Linked DNA regions of Homo sapiens: region 2 is linked to region 1. The links are contacts of gene promoters, found by promoter capture Hi-C in blood cells and fetal thymus (Javierre and others, 2016). All regions are on one chromosome and are shown on one strand. The core of a region is centred on a gene start or on the middle of the fragment in contact, and the rest is flanking DNA. Distances in the headings are between cores, read along the strand shown.

What was found. The method cuts DNA at HindIII sites, captures the fragments that hold promoters and counts their contacts. A CHiCAGO score of 5 or more calls a contact.
Region 2: a contact is called between a fragment that was not itself captured here and the fragment with the promoter of AQP9 in region 1, in 2 of 17 cell types (M2 macrophages and M1 macrophages). The highest score is 5.8, in M2 macrophages.

The regions. Positions count from the first base shown.
Region 1 is chr15:58,136,536-58,140,519 of GRCh38, forward strand. AQP9 (aquaporin 9) reads left to right here and starts at 1,846. Exons shown (of 6, transcript NM_020980.5): 1 at 1,846-2,141. The coding sequence starts at 2,031. The HindIII fragment of the contact is 735 bases long and covers 1,326-2,060 here.
Region 2 is chr15:57,863,519-57,867,502 of GRCh38, forward strand. No RefSeq gene overlaps it. Among named protein-coding and RNA genes, the nearest start is that of POLR2M, 160 kb to the left of the region's middle. The HindIII fragment of the contact is 1,245 bases long and covers 1,684-2,928 here.

The DNA.
Region 1 (3,984 bases), core at 596-3,095:
TGTCCCCTACCCCTTACCCCCAAAGCCACCAAGGACTTTGTACATGCACTTTCTTCCCCACTTCATGTAGTTAATCCCATGCTTCTTTCTGATCTCAGTCCACACATGACTTCCTTGGAGAAGCCATCAGAGATCTCTCCAACAAAGTCAAATCCTTTTGCTATATTTGCTTATGGAAATATGGCCCCCATCTTTGCAGCATACATCTCAGTTGTGATTTTGTATTTATGTGTGTGGGATTATTTCACTTACATCTGTCTGCTTCACTAGACTCTAGGCTCTGTGAAGGACAAGAACCCTATGTGCTCTTGTTAAGTGCAGTGCTTGGCACATAATGAGTGTGCAGTAAATAGTTGTTAGATGAGTGAATGGGAAGACCAGAGAACGCTCTTGCATGTTATTAGCTGTAGTCACAGTAAGAAAGTCCTGTTTCTCTGGTCCATCCACTGGGACTTGGTAATGGTGTGGTCATAGGTAACTCTTCTAGACAATGGTATTTATGATAACTTCATCAGGAATTAAAGCCAAAGTGCTGAGGTTTTGTCCTGGTTCTGCAGTAGTGTGGCCTCAGGCAGGTTATAACTTTTTAAAGTCTAAATTCTAAATGTCACCTACAGATGAGAAGTCTCCTTCTGCCTTTGGCCTCTCACCAGCTGCTTTCTCCATGTCCTCTCCTCCCTCCCTTTTTGCAAAGCTAGGGGAGGGCCTGATGCAGAGCTGGCTTCCCTGTGGGAGGACTGGAAGGAACCACACAGCATGGATACTAATTCCATGAGTCCACATTGGTAATCAGAAACTAGGCCTGCCTTGCTATTTAGAAACTAATGCTATATTCTATTTCTTCAGATAAGCCAGTTTTGAAAAACAAGGCTTGAATATTTGGCAGGACAAGGAGCTACTCCCAAACACAGTTTCTTGCCAGCAAGGATGTCAATTTATCAAATTGAAAGGGTATAACCTAGGAGCCTCGGTTAGGTGTACTGGCTCCCTTTCTCGTTTGATTAGAATGACATACACGCTAATTGATCTCTTTCCGGCTCAGTCATCTCCATGCAGTAAAGAATTTCAAGCTGCTATTGTTTATTTCCTATGTATTATGTCTAAATATTTCATGGTGAATGAAGAAGAGTGACTATTTTCAAACTGGAATGCTTCTTCAGAAGAAACCCAAACTGGAATGTTTCTTCAGAAGAAACTTCAGAAGTCACCAAAAAGGTGACTCCTCCATCTTTCTGATTCTTGGATCCTAAAGTATCTTCAGCAAGTGAAGCCCAGTTTCATAACCGAAGAGGTGACTCCATCTGTCCTACAGACTTGCAGTGTGAAGCTTGCAATGGTTTCTCTGTATGTTAATTTCTCCATCTCTAGGATGGCCTATGTGGTTCTTACTAACCTCAGAGTGGTATCATGAAGCCACTGAAATGATACCAGAAGAAAACAAGAGTGATTAATCTTCTAGGATGATAAATCTATATTTTCTTCAAATTCTTCATTTTGCATAAAAACCTTTTTCAGAAAAGAATGTTAACATTGGATATATCTACACCTGATTTGACAGTTCCAAACTACACCCCAACCACCCACTTCTGAATGAGAAGAAAAAAAAATCAGAAGCCTGCAATTGTGTAACATGAAAATCTTTTCTGGACCAGGGCCCGTCACTGTGATTTGGCAACACAACTGGCACATCTCTTTTCTCATCTCTTGAAAAAAACCAACAGAGAAAAAAGTACCTTGAGAATAAAGGTAATGATTAATCTGTCAGGCACAAAAGGGATTGTTTTGGGGATTTCGGGTTCTAAGTCGCAGATTCAAACAAATAGCAGCGAACAGGGAATGACAGTTCCACCAGAAGACGATTAAGCCACAGCCTCTAATTGGAACGGCATTTGTACAGTCAGAGACTCTTACCAGACATCTCCAGGAATCTGTGAGCCATTGTCAAAACGTCCATTTTCATCTGGCTGTGAAAGTGAGGACCACAACAGGTAGGTATTGGTAGAAACAGGAGTCCTCAGAGAAGCCCCAAGATGCAGCCTGAGGGAGCAGAAAAGGGAAAAAGCTTCAAGCAGAGACTGGTCTTGAAGAGCAGCTTAGCGAAAGAAACCCTCTCTGAGTTCTTGGGCACGTTCATCTTGATTGTAAGTATTTCCTGATTTCCTACATTCAGACCCAATAATGCCTCCCTAGCTGCCAGGCTGGTAGTGGAGAGTTTTGTTTGGTTTGTTTTATTTAAGTTAATTGGGATCAGATTCATCTTTTCCAGGAAGAAACAAGTTACTAGAGGCTGTTTGACTATTTAGGGGTTGTGATATTAAGTTTTCAATTACCTATTGCATTTACCCACAAAAGTTGATGGGAATGGAAGAGAAGGAGTGAGTGAAGTGCCTTCTTTATTTCAGGTATTTACTTATACTCTAAAATGGCTTTGTGATTTAAAAGTCAGTCGTTAGTGTTTTCATTGATCAATTGATTTGTACCCTGCTTGCTTCCTCCAAGCATTGGGGTGACTCAGCCACCTGGAATAAGCATCAATAGTCAATAAATATAGTTGGCAAAAATATACATATGGATGGCAAGAAACATCTCAGTATGACAAGTACTTGACAAGTATTGTGCTGTCAGATCACTTGATTTTTAAGAAATTAAAAATTGCACTAGGTAGAAATAGTGTACCAGGCAATAGTCCAGCTTTAGTTTTGTGTCATTTTTGGTCTCTATTTAAAGCAAAGTAATCTCTAAATATCTTTGGAGATTTACAAGACAATTACAAGAACCTTCTAGATATAAACGAGGGACGACTTCTAAGAACCTCTTGAGGATTGCCCAGAGATTTACTCAGCTATTAACAAGAGACTGGAAAGTTTACTTAAGTGGTCTGGGCTTTCATTTTGCTGCACGTTCTAGCATTCTCTGTATCCTGAAGTTTTACCTGGAACCAGGCCATTTGTGAATAGAAATGTATTATCATGTGGCAACTATTGATTTCAACTGGTTTTTTTTATCCTGCTTAAGGATTTCCTACTCCAGGTATAAATAATTTCATTTTCCTTAAAGTTATAGAGAATAGCCCATAAACTCTGTGCATTAAAAGTTCTTTGCTTGGGGCAAATACATAATAATTTAGAAGAATAAGCTTGGAATGCATCAGCTAAGCCAAGAATGAGAAACAAATGTGAACTCAAAAAATTGAACTAGTGGAATGTGAAGAGAGAGTCATAAGTTTTCTGGTCTCTGAGAAACACATTAGACCAGATTCGTTACAGTATTTTCAGGGAGTTACGGACAATTTCTTGCACTCCTCATCTTCCCTTGGCATTCATTCCTGGCTGCTCTGACCACACTCACTGTCATAATGTAGCAAGACATTATGTAGTAAGACATTATGTAAGTAGTTATTTCTAACTAAAATAAAAGAAATAAAAGAGAGAAGATGAAAGTCAGTGATTCTTATGATTCCCGGTCACTGCTTACTGGAAAATCTTTCTTAGTGAGACTGAGACCCCTCTGTCATGTTACTTGACAATCTGGCCCCAAAGAAGCAGTTGTCAATACAGAGTGATTACAGCCTCACAGTGACGAGTGAGTCAGAAAAGTGAAGCAAATTCAGTTACAATTCTTAGTGCTCTGCAGAAAACAGAGGAGGAAATGAACTACACATCTTTTTTTTTTTTTTTTTGCAACCAAAAAGTTTAAAACCCTCTGTATTTCTTAAGAAGAACCTGTTTCATAATCCCGTGCTTTCTGTGTTGAAAGTGAAATTTGCTTTCAGCAGTTCACTGTTCAACTGGCCTTGTGTCTTCCCCACTATGCAAGGTAGGGGCTAAATAAAGAACATCTTGATATTGTCTGTTGAAAAATTAAAACTTGTATGTTCTGGATAAAGCCAGTCATTTCCTGAAATATTTAATTTCCATTTATACTATACATTTATTTTCTAAAGTGAACCCTAATAAAATCTGCAACCTTGATTATCATCTTCAG
Region 2 (3,984 bases), core at 1,056-3,555, 270 kb before region 1:
TCAGACCCTGCTCAGGTGTCCCTTCTCCAGGAAGTCTCTGAATTCCCATTTCCCTTCTCACCCACTCCTTGAGGAGGATTCTAAGACTAGGTTTGGACCCAGCAGGAAGAAGTGCTTGAGGTCAAAGTCTAGCACAGGTATGGGAGCGGAAGTAGAGGCAGGCAGGCAAAATATCTGCCGTTTCAGGGTAAGTTGTGAATAGAACAAACAGTTCCACAATTAAAGTTAAGAGTTTGGAAACACTGGACTTGGCCGCTTTTTCTCGTCTTCACTGAGCCACCTGCTAACCCATGACTTGTTCTCCTAAGTGGACTCAATCATGAGGAAGGAGTATTCAGAGCCAGGGACCAGTTACTGGTAGCTTACCAGGCCACCTTTCTGTAGAAAGCAATAAATTGGCCTTTGGGTTTATTTCTAAGTGTCCAGGCGTTTAGCCAGTGCAGGTCTATCTGCCAGAGCCTGACTACCCTCAGCATGCTGAGAAAGTGGGGTTCATGTGCTGGGAAGCTGAACCGAAGAGTGGCCATTGTATGCCCTGCTTGGGGTAAAGAGAGGCCTCTATGGCTATCTTTCATCAGAATGAATGGCAGGGCCCAGTGGACTTTCTCTTAATTCAGTCTTCTCCTTGCAGAGGCTTTTTCTTAAACTCAAGCTTTCCCTGGCAAACTCAGAACAGGATGAAATGATCTGGCAAAGGGAAATGAAGAGGAGGAATTATCCAGGGGATTTGATCCTTGTGGTCATTTTTCAGACAAAAATGTTCCATCCATCCCTTTCTTCAAGAGCAGGAATTTGGTACCTGCAATATCCAGATCATTACATTACTTCTCTTGGCATTTGAAAAGAAAATTGTTTTGTGTGTCTGTGAGAAAGAGATTTAATGTATTTATATTCCTTTGATGCCTACTTCCCCTCTGAGTTTCTATTACCACAACCAATGATCCCCCTGCATGTAGTTTTGTAATGTGAAGCCCACACATAGAGTTTTTTTTTTTTTAAGTAAAATTGAGCTTCTAAAATTACCTAAGAGCTGCCAATTCTGAAAATTAACCTCTGTTTAATTAGTTTTGAATGACAACAAACCCAAACTAGTTAAGGTAGAAGCTGAGAGGAAGGAGTACTATGGGAGTTTTCACATTGAATCTCCTGTGTGGCCCTCAAACCAAAGTTTCAGGAGAATGCTGCCAAATAAAAGAGTGGATGATTAAGTGGAAATTAGGAAAACTTTTGTAAAATTGACAAAGGAAAGTCAGAACATTTCAAAGTTTTCTCAGAACTGAATAACAATATAGATCTTCCCTGTCTTTTTCTACCTCTCCCCGCAAGACCTGAGTGCCGGTCATTTTTTAGAAAAGGTGCTCAAATTGACACTTTGGAGATTTCCAGTGCCTTCTATGTGACATGTTTAAGTGCAGGGCTGTGAGGTGAGCACTGATACCATCCCCATTCATTTCAAAGGCTTAGTGCACTATTCAGGCTCGCGGTGAGGGCCCAGTTGATGCTAGCCACTATTACTCTATTAATTTGTGGGAGTAACCAGCCCTTCTGCTTGGGACTGGAACCATTTCTGATTGGTTGGTAATTGCTTTACTATGTTTTGAATGGTGGCACTTAGTGGGCAGAGTTTTCTAGTAAAATCTCAATAGGTATAAAGTGTACAGGTGTCTTCGTAACTTGTTTATAAGCTTACTTGAAGGTAAAGATATTGTTCCATCGATCTTTGTGGCTCACACAGCACGTAGCACAGTAGTTTTCCATAGTAGGTCCTCAAAGAAACTTTTAAATAATAAAATGAAACCTCTGTGTGTAAAGCCATAGACGTGCTTGGTTGGTTTTGTGAAATCTCGTGTCTAAGCAAAAGGCTGATCGACATGGAAGGGTGATGATACCTGAAGAAATGAGCAAAGGTGCCCCCCAACAGAACCTTCCATGATGATGGAAATGTTCTGACCTATGTTGTCCACTAGGGGAGCCACCAGCCACCAGTGAATGCTGAGCACCTGGAATGTGGGTACCATGGCTGAAGTACTAAATGTTCAAGTTTATTCAATTTTAATTAATTTCACTTGGAAGTTACAGAGCCACATGTGGCTAGTGGCCCCTATACTGAACAGCATAGCACAGGCCTAGACCTCCAGTTGAGAATCTGGCAAAAAGGCCCATTTCAGTTGTAGCCATTGAACAAAAGCAGTGATCTCAAAGTGTACCCCTCAGTCAGCAGCATCGGCATTGCCTGAGAACTTTATTAGACTTGCACGCTTTTGGAGCTCATGCTACACCTTCTGAAACAAATTCTGGGGATGAGGCCAAGCAATCTGTATTTTTACAATCCCTTTGTGGTTCTGATGCACCCTCCCATTTGAGAACCTCTGATCTAATTTAAAATTAAAGCAAAATGAGATTCTGATCTACGCTGGTCACCTTTTCTCTGGCAGTGGTTCTCAGACCTCACCAGTGTGGCCTAGCTGCGTGAGAACCCCCAGGCCAATTTGTTACACATACACCCCCCCACACACTACCGAGTTCTACCCTTTAGGGATTCTGATTTTGAATATCTGGACTAGATCAGAAATCTCTACTTTTTTTTTTTAAAGCTCTGAGATACTTTTCATTCACAGCCAAATTGGGGAACCACTCTTAGATCCGGTCAGAGGGTCTCTGGAATTTTATCTCTGATCACGGCAGGACTTGATCCACTCCATTAACCTATGTCCTGTCCCTCCTTTCCTCCTGAGGCCAGTGGAGAAAGGGACCCCAACCTCACTGACTTTCACAGAGCGTTTTTACATCTGCCATTAGATCAAAAAGGTTGCACTAAGGCCCCTGGGCGCCAGGGGGCTCTGTGGAGACTTTGGGCTTCAGGCTTTTCTGTTGGGTTCTAGACTGTTTTGCAAACTATCCGTGTCCAAGAACCAGGTTTTTCCCCTAAGCTTTTACAGACCATTACTTTTTAAAAATGCAATAAAAGTTACTAGAAAGACACAATAAAGACATAGAAAATACAAGGCCTGATTTTCTCCAACAGTGTTACTGTGAACATTGTAAAATATATAAAAAGTCGAAATAATTGCTTTGTACAGTGAACACCAATATACCCACCACCTGGATCCTACCATTAGCATTTTGTTATATTTGCTTTATTATTTATTGATCCGTGTTTCTATCCATTAATCCAAGTTTGGTTTTTTTTTTGTTTTTTGTTTTTTTTTGTTTTTTTATGAACTTAAAGTAAGTTGCTGACATTAGTGCACTTCACCCCTGGACAGTTCAGTATACATATCACGGACGATGTTTCAATTTTTTTTTTTTTTTTTTTTTTTTTACTTTAGTAGAGACATGGTTTCACCATGTTGGCCAGAACGGTCTCGAACTCCCTGGCTTTGAGTGATCCGCCCACCTTGACCTCCCAAAGTGCTGGGATTACATGCGTGAACCACTGTGGCCAGCCAGGTTTCAATATTTTTACGAATTTTTTTTTTTGAGGCATACTTCACATACTGTGAAATGCACAGATCTTAAATGTACTATTCAAAAAAGAATCTTCAGAAATGCATATACTTGTCTAACCTCAAACAGTAACAAGATACAGAGCTTTTCCATCATCCAGAAGGTTCTCTTGTGCACCTTAGCAGCCAATTTGCACAACAGTTTAACCATAAGTCCTAATTTTTTTTATTATTTGATTCAAGAATAAAGTTAGTTTGTCAAACTGCCATTAGATTTTCTAAATACACATTTTAAATTCCTGAACTTACCTCCTCATGCACTGGTGATAAGCAGCTCCTGAACAGCCTCGCTGGGGGACCACTGTGTAAGTAAAGCCTATTCTGAGATGCTGGGTTCACAGCCCAGGGCCCTGTGACCGTATTCAAAGTCCACTTGCTTGGAAGTCTCCAAAGCTCATCTCTCTGATGGGCACATCCTGTGACGTCCTCTGCATATTCCCTGTGCTCTTGTTGTTTTCACCTCCAAAGGGAAGGAGAG